Linked DNA regions of Homo sapiens: regions 1 and 3 are each linked to region 2. The links are contacts of gene promoters, found by promoter capture Hi-C in blood cells and fetal thymus (Javierre and others, 2016). All regions are on one chromosome and are shown on one strand. Each heading gives the region's core, a stretch centred on a gene start or on the middle of the fragment in contact. The rest is flanking DNA. Distances are from core to core; before and after follow the strand shown. Region 1 has its middle 10 kb from the start of ENSA. Region 2 holds the start of HORMAD1 (HORMA domain containing 1). Region 3 overlaps ARNT (aryl hydrocarbon receptor nuclear translocator).

Region 1 (2,700 bases), core at 1-2,500, 81 kb before region 2:
AGCAAACTAAGAGTATAATTGGATTGTTGGAAACATAAAGGATAGATGTTTGAGGTGATGAATACTGTATTTACTCTGATGTAATTATTACACATTGCATGCCTATATCAAACATCTCATGTAACCCATAAATATATACACCCACTATGTATCCACAAAAATTAAAAAAGAGCCCGGGCATGGTGGCTCACATCTGTAATCCCAGCACTTTGGGAGGCCAAGGCGGGCGGATCACCTGGGGTCGGGAGTTCGAGACCAGCCCGACCAACACGGAGAAACCCTGTCTCTACTAAAAAATACAAAATTAGCCGGGCGTGGTGGCGCATGCCTCTAATCCCAGCTACCCGGGAGGCTGAGGCAGGAGAATCACTGGAACCTGGGAGGCGGAGGTTGTGGTGAGCTGAGATCGTGCCATGGCACTCCAGCCTGGGCAATAAGAGCAAAACTCCGTCTCAAAAAAAAAAAAAAATTAAAAAAGAAATGCATTCTTATGTTATACCAAAACACATATTCATAGTAGTTCTATTTATAGTTGCCCCAAACTAGGTCAATCAAATCTTCAAAAAAAGTAAAATAGTTAATTCATGGTCACAAAACATACATATTTCATAATTTCATTTGTATAAACCTCAAAAGCAAAACCAATCTATGGTATTTCAAGTCAAGATTGTGGTTACCTTTAAGGGAGAAAATAGCAACTGGGAAAAGGTATGAGGGGGGATTCTAGGGTGCTGGTAACGATCTGTTTCTTGATTTGGGTGCTGGCTATATATGTTCACTATTCATTTTTTAAAAATAGACACAGAGTCTCACTATGTTGCCCAGGCTGGTCTTAAACTCTTGGCCTCAAGCAGTCCTCCCACCTCGGCCTCCCAAAGTGCTTGGATTACGGGAGTGAGCCACCATTCCCAGCTAGCCACCTCATTTAAAATAGTATTACTTGGCCGGGTGCAGTGGCTGACGCCTGTAATTCCAGCACTTTGGGAGGCCGAGGCGGGTTGGGATCAAGCCAGCCTGGCGAACATGGTGAAACCTCAACTCTCCTAAAATTACAAAATTAGTAATCGAGACCATTCTGGGTAACATGGTGAAATCCCATCTCTACTAAAAATACAAAAAATTAGCTGGGCATGGTGGCGGGCGCCTGTAGTCCCAGCTACTCGGGAGGCTGAGGCAGGAGAATGGCGTGAACCCAGGAGGCGGAGCTTGCAGTGAGCTGAGATGGCGCCACTGCACTCCAGCCTGGGTGACAGAGTGAGACTCCGTCTCAAAAACAAAAAACAAAAAACAAAACAAACAAACAAAAAACAAAAAAAATTAGGCTGGGCGCAGTGGCTCATGCCTGTAATCCCAGCACTTTGGGAGGCTGATGTGGGCGGATCACCTGAGGTCAGGAGTTCAAGACCAGCCTTACCAACATGGAGAAACCCCGTCTCTACTAAAAATACAAAAAAAATTAGCCAGGCATGGTGGCATATGCCTGTAATCCCAGCTGTCAGGCCTCTGAGCCCAAACCAAGCCATCGCATCCCCTGTGACTTGCACGTATACACCCAGATGGCCTGAAGTAACTGAAGATCCACAAAAGAAGTAAAAATAGCCTTAACTGATGACATTCCACCATTGATTTGTTCCTGTCCCACCCTAACTGATCAATGTACTTTGTAATCTCCCCCACCCTTAAGAAAGTTCTTTGTAATTCTCCCCACCCTTGAGAATGTACTTTGTGAGATCCACCCCTGCCCGCAAAACATTGCTCTCAACTTCACCGCCTATCCCAAAACCTATAAGAATTAATGATAATCCATCTCCCTTCGCTGACTCTCTTTTCGGCACCCAGGTGAAATAAATACCCATGTTGCTCACACAAAGCCTGTTTGGTGGCCTCTTCACACGGACGCACATGAAACCAGCTACTTGGGAGGCTGAGGCAGGAGAATTGCTTGAACCCGGGAGGCGGAGGTTGCGGTGACCCGAGATCACGCCATTGCACTCCTGCCTGGGCAACAAGAGCAAAATTCCGTCTCAGGGAAAAAAAAAAAATTAGCTGGGTGTGGTGGGGCAGGCCTGTAATCCCAGCTACTCAGGAGGCTGAGGCAGGAGAATCACTTGAACCTGGGAGGCGGAGGTTGCAGAGTCGAGATCATGCCATTGCCCTCCAGCCTGGGCGACTGAGTGAGACTCCATCTTAAAAAAAAAAAAAAAAAAAGTCTTTTATTACTTTTTGAGCATTTAAAGAGTATTTTTTGGCCAGACGGTGTGGCTCACGCCTGTAATCCCAGTATTTTGGGAGGCCCAGGCGGGTGGATCACTTGAAGCCTCCAGCCTGGCCAACATGGCAGGAGAATGACTGGAACCCGGGAGGTGGATGTTGCAGTGAGCCAAGATGGTGTCACTGCACTCCAGCCTGGGTGACAGAGAGAGACTCTGTCTCAAAGACAAAAAGAAAATTTGTTCAGTATTTTCTTCAATCAGCTTTCTCAGACTGAATGTTCACCCTTTTAAATATTCATAATGTTCCTGAGAATCCATTTGGCTATTCTGTTTTCTTCACCCTTCTCCAGCCTTCCCCTCCTCAATTCGACCCATTTCTTCCCTACTTCCCAAAAGAAAAAATATCTACTTTGGATTAATATAAATCAGTTTAATCTAACTTATTCAAGACTTTTTTGGCCTCTACTTGGAGGTTCAAGAAAAGGTG
Region 2 (2,700 bases), core at 198-2,697:
TATACCAAAATACAAGAAATCATACCATGGGAGTCCTCTGCAACTGGGCAGTGGCCATCTTCTTCTGATAAAGTATTTTCTTTAATTCAACCTTGTGACACAAATACAAGCTTTAACTTAGAGCTCATTTTTTTCCTCTAACATTTCAGTTTACCACATATAAAATTCAAAACAATTTTATGTGAATAAATTTGAATTTCTTTAATTAAAATAGAGTCTTCAAAAACGTAGAGGTCGATATTGCAGTAGAACCATTTTGAGTAGGGTCCTGATTTGAAGCCATTTGACTAGCAAGTCTCAAACAAATGGGTTATTAAGAAACTGTTTAAGAGAACTTTTTAAAAAGGCACAATCTTCCTATTTTTATTCCCTATACAAATTCAAACAATGACAACATTGTACAGGTAGGTATTCAGTAATGAAAAATTGCCTGGCAAACCCTCTAAACTTTTTCAGTTTTATTTGTTTTTATTTTTCATTTTTTTGAGACGGAGTTTCGCTCTGTCGCCAGGCTGGAGTGCAGTGGCGCGATCTCAGCTCACTGCAAGCTCCGCCTCCCGGGTTCAAGCGATTCTCCTGCCTCAGCCTCCCGAGTAGCTGGGACCACAGGTGCCCACCATATATATATATACAATTTTTTTTTTCGAGACGGTGTCTCTCTCTGTTGCCCAGGCTGGAGTGTAATGGCGCGATCTCGGCTCACCGCAACCTCCCCCTCTGGGTTCAAGTGATTCTCCTGCCTGAGCCTCCTGAGTAGCTGGGACTCCAGGCGTGCCACCACGCCCAGCTAATTTTTGTATTTCTAGTAGACACGGGGTTTCACCATGTTGGCCAGGAAACTCCTGACCTCGTGATCCGCCCGCCTCGGCCCCCAAGGTGTTGGGATTATAGGCGTGAAGCACCGTGCCCGGCCGCTAATTTTTTTTTCTATTTTTAGTGGAGACGGGGTTTCGCCATGTTGGTCAGGCTGGTCTCAAATGATCCTCCGGCCTCAGCCGCCCAACTTGCTGGGATTACAGGAAGTTGTGTGTCCGGAACCACTGTGTCCGGCCCCAGTTTCACTTTTCTTAATCAGACAATTCAGCTGGAAGAGTTTACTAAAGAGGCAAACTTCATAGAAGAACCTATTTACGTTAAACGTTTAAATTTATCCTGACAAATCCTGAATTCGCCGTCCGTACTCACCCCATCTCAAGAACCTCTGTTGACAAGTAAGTGGGTATACATTTTTACCGCAAATGTTTTACCACTAAGACCTTAAGAAACTTAAAAGTAGGGGGAAGCTGACAGACAAAGAGATTAAAAAGTAAAATATACGCACACACACACAGATATATACACACTAATATATATTACATTACGTCTGAGGGGCGGGCGCCGGAGACCAGAAGAGCTGCACGAGGCTGCACGCGCTGTGCCCGACGCGCATGCGCTTTCCTTCAACGGTCACCCGCTGGGGCGCGACAGTGGCTTTTTGACCCCTGGTCGAGGTCACCTTTCCCGCCAAGCGCAGCGCAAGGCGCACTGGGAGCCTCAGACACGGGAAGCCTCAGCGCCACGTCTCAGGCAGTGGAAAAGCCAGACAGAAGGGGGAAGGTTAAGTAACTGCATGTGCAGTTACTGAATTTCTGATTGTTTTTCTGACTTTTGATTTTCTTTCTTTTTTTTTTTTTTTTTTTTTTGAGACGGAGTTTTGCTCTTGTCGTCCAGGCTGAAGTGCAGTGGCATGATCTTGGCTCACTGCAACCTCTGCCTCCAGGGTTCAAGCAATTCTCCTGCCTCAGCCTCCCAAGTAGCTGGGATTACAGGCGTCCGCCACCATGCCCAGCTAATTTTTGTATTTTTAGTAGAGACGGGGTTTTGCCATGTTGGCCAAGCTGGTCTCAAACTCCCGACCTCAGGTGACCTGCCTCCCTCGGCCTCCCAAAGTGCTGGGATTACAGGCGTGAGCCACCACACCCGGCTGACTTTTGATTTTCTCATTGGAACTACCACAAATTGCATTCCCACCTTCCAATCTCCTGTATCTTCAGGAAACCATTTGCTTTAGCAGTCTTCTACTTAGCCACTTCCACTGTGTTATGTCATTGGGGACAATGGATAGCTTTGAATGTAATTTGTCTCATTTAGAAACAAAATAAAATCAGAGTGGGTAGGTATTAATAGTTGGAGATTATTCAGTAGTACAAGCTTCTTAGTTTACAGATTATTATATATCCAAATACATTTCTTACCAGTGTAAACATTCAATTACAGGCATACCTTGGAGATATTGCAAGTTCAGTTCCAGACCCTCCAATAAAGCAAACAACATAATAAAGCAAATTACACAATTTTTTAGTTTTCCATGTGTATAAAAGTTATGTTGGCTAGATGTGGTGGCTCATGCCAATAATCCCAGCACTTTGGGAGGCTGAGGCGGAACAATTGCTTGAGGCCAGAAATTGGGGATCAGCTTGGGCAACAAAGTGAGACCCTGTCTCTACAAAAAATAAAAAAAATTAGGCAGAGGTTGTGGCACACACCTGTAGTCTCAGCTACTCAGGAGGCTTAGGCAGGAGGATCCCTTGAGCCCAGGAGTTTGCAGTGGCAGTGAGCCCTGTTTGAGCCACTGCACTCCTGCCTAGGCGGCAGTGAGACTTGTTTCAAAAAAAAAAAATTATGGTTACACTATTAATATCTTAATATATATATATAAAT
Region 3 (2,700 bases), core at 69-2,568, 110 kb after region 2:
TTATACCAACCATCAATAGTTATTCATGTCCCTTGGAAAAGAGAAAAACCAATGTTTTACACAGAAAGGGAAGAAGACTGCATTTCTCCCCTGTTTTTTGCATAGTTATACTCTTTTTATCCAGAAAAATAGTATTCCTTGATGCTACATAGAGGTATGAAAGATCACATACTTTAACTGTGTGGCTTATATAGTATATAGACTAAGTAGTTCAAATGTCATTACTACTTCAGTTAAATTTTTTTAAATTACATTAATTACTTTTATTGGGTTACCTGCCATATGCCAGGCACTGGGCTGGATGCTTTCCTTACATTAAATCTAATCCTCACAAAAACCCTATACAGGATGTACTAACTCTGAATTACAGATGAGAAAACTGAGCTTTATAAAGGTCAAGCAACTTACCCTAGGTGATGCCACTAATAAGTAACAATGACAGGAATCACATCCAGGTTTCTCCACATCCAAAGTTTAACCTTTTTCCAAAACACATCACCTTGCTTCTCTTTTCTCTTAGTTTCTGTCTCCCCAAAACCCCTACTTTCCAATAATACCCAGGCAGCAGGGAAGTAATAAAGTTGCTAAGATTTGGAAACTCTGACAAGCCAACTTAAAACTTTGATCCTGCAACCCAATCACCTTTCTCACATTCCTTGTTTGACCTCAAGTTCTGGTAAAGCTAATCTGCTCAAAGCTTGATTTAAAGTCTTTGCAGAGAATATCCTCTTGATAAGTTATTACAATAAAGGCATTTTCCCCTTTTCTCTCAAAGTCTTGTTCCTACTTTAGAAATCTTTCTCAAATTAACTGCATTCAATGTCTAAGTTTCTTTGCAACAAATGCTTAGAATACATATGTTCAGTATAAATTTGTTCACATAAAAACCACATTCTGTGACACAGCCAATACTGAATCATTTTCCAGCCTGAGTTATCTATCTCCTCAACTGGAATAAAAGCTCAATAATGGAAGGGAAGGATTGTACATTTTCTTTTCCTATTTTCTTTCATCTTACACAAAAGTACATTTCATATACCAGGTATATAATAAATATTAGCTTTCATGGACTCTGTGAGGAACCAACTGTACCAAGGGGAAATATTTACTATTTCACTTTCTTACCTGCTGGGGGCCAGGCCTTGATGTAGCCTGTGCAGTGGACCACCACGAAGTGAGGTTCCCCATCCTTTACAGAGCCAAGTCCATTCCTAGAAGAGTTACAGGAGTTTGAAAAAAAAAAAAAAAATCTACCCGTAAAACTCAAAGGGCAATGCTGCCTTAGTACTTTTAAGTTTATGCTCTTAGGAGTTTAGAAAACAGGATAATCATCTTTCCCACCCAAAAATGACCGCCACATTTTTACCCTTGCCAAAGTAAAGTAACCAAAAGGTATGCAGTAGGAGGAAAGTAGGTAAAATAGCATAGCGACTTCCTTAAACAGGATTTTCAAGAGAAGTTTTAGAAGTTTAGGAAAATATTGCCAGAAAAAAAGTAAGTGGGAGGTAAGGGATGTTAAGTGGGAGGTAAGGGATGCAAGTGAGAGCTGCTGAAGGAACGACTACAGTAAGACAGGTAAAAATGTGATGATCTCTGCAGGTATTTGGCCATCCCTTTGGTTTTCACCACTTAGGATCTCACCTGCATCTGTTCCTCACAAAGCTCAGCCTATTCACAGAAACTGGGTCCACAGAGCTACTGCCACACCTGTTTCAAGGAATAAAGAGATTAAAAGCAATCAGACTGCCCTATCAAAGAACTTTCCACAGTAATAGCAGAATAACATGCTCTGGATACAACCAGACATAGAAAATTGGTAATGCTACTAATAATGAAGGATAAAGATAGGTCAAGTTTAGTATTTCTAAAACTTTTAGAATTTGAAGTCAAAATGTTCCATATGTTCTTCATATGCAAACATTCTCAACATCAAGAGTTGGCAAGCTTTTTCTGTAAAGGACCAGATAGTACATATTTTCAGCTTTGCGGGCCAGAAAGTCTGTTGCAACTAGTCAACTCTAGCATTATAGCATGAAAATAGCCATAGATAATATGTAAAAATATGGGCATGGCTATGTTCCAATAAAACTTTATTTACAAATAAAGGGCTGTGGTTTGCTTACTCCTGCTCTACATTAACCACAACTTAATGTAATTGCTACAGTTCATTATTATCTTGCTCTTGCCTATGTCTTTGCATTAGCCATGTCCACATATTGGGATACTCCTGCCAATGCTACTTTCCCTCTCCCTATCCTTTAAAACAAAAATAAAACTTACATAGGGTTAATATGTGTCATGCTCTGTTCTAAATATCTTTACATATATTAATTCATCTAATCTTCATAACAACTTTATAAAGTCAGTATTAACATTATCGCCAATGTGAGATGATGAAATCAAAGCACAATGTAGTCATGTAATCATCCAAGGTTTCAGAAGATAGCATCAAAGCTAGAATTCAAATCCATAGAATATGGATTAAAACAAAATCCAGCAGTCTGGGTCTAGAAGCTACTCTAAATTACACGCTGGGTGCAGTGGTTCAGGCCTGTAATCTCAGCACTTTGGGAGGCTGACGCAGGCGAATCACTTGAGGTCAAGAGTTTGAGGCCAGCCTGGCCAACATGGTGAAACACTGTTTTACTAAAAATACAAAAATTAGCCAGCTGTGGTGGCAATCCAGCTACTCAGGAAACT

Evidence for each region. The method cuts DNA at HindIII sites, captures the fragments that hold promoters and counts their contacts. A CHiCAGO score of 5 or more calls a contact.
Region 1: a contact is called between a fragment that was not itself captured here and the fragment with the promoter of HORMAD1 in region 2, in 3 of 17 cell types (M2 macrophages, M1 macrophages and endothelial precursors). The highest score is 5.9, in M2 macrophages.
Region 3: a contact is called between a fragment that was not itself captured here and the fragment with the promoter of HORMAD1 in region 2, in 6 of 17 cell types (M2 macrophages, M1 macrophages, endothelial precursors and 3 more). The highest score is 10.3, in M2 macrophages.

Annotation. Positions count from the first base shown.
Region 1 is chr1:150,638,676-150,641,375 of GRCh38, forward strand. No RefSeq gene overlaps it. Among named protein-coding and RNA genes, the nearest start is that of ENSA, 10 kb to the left of the region's middle. RefSeq lists an enhancer at 2,442-2,700. The HindIII fragment of the contact is 4,327 bases long and covers 1-2,700 here.
Region 2 is chr1:150,719,448-150,722,147 of GRCh38, forward strand. HORMAD1 (HORMA domain containing 1) reads right to left here and starts at 1,448. Exons shown (of 15, transcript NM_032132.5): 1 at 1,357-1,448; 2 at 26-91. The coding sequence starts at 58. The HindIII fragment of the contact is 2,080 bases long and covers 109-2,188 here.
Region 3 is chr1:150,830,693-150,833,392 of GRCh38, forward strand. ARNT (aryl hydrocarbon receptor nuclear translocator) reads right to left here. Exons shown (of 22, transcript NM_001668.4): 9 at 1,642-1,707; 10 at 1,126-1,211. Among named protein-coding and RNA genes, the nearest start is that of CTSK, 24 kb to the left of the region's middle. The HindIII fragment of the contact is 1,247 bases long and covers 696-1,942 here.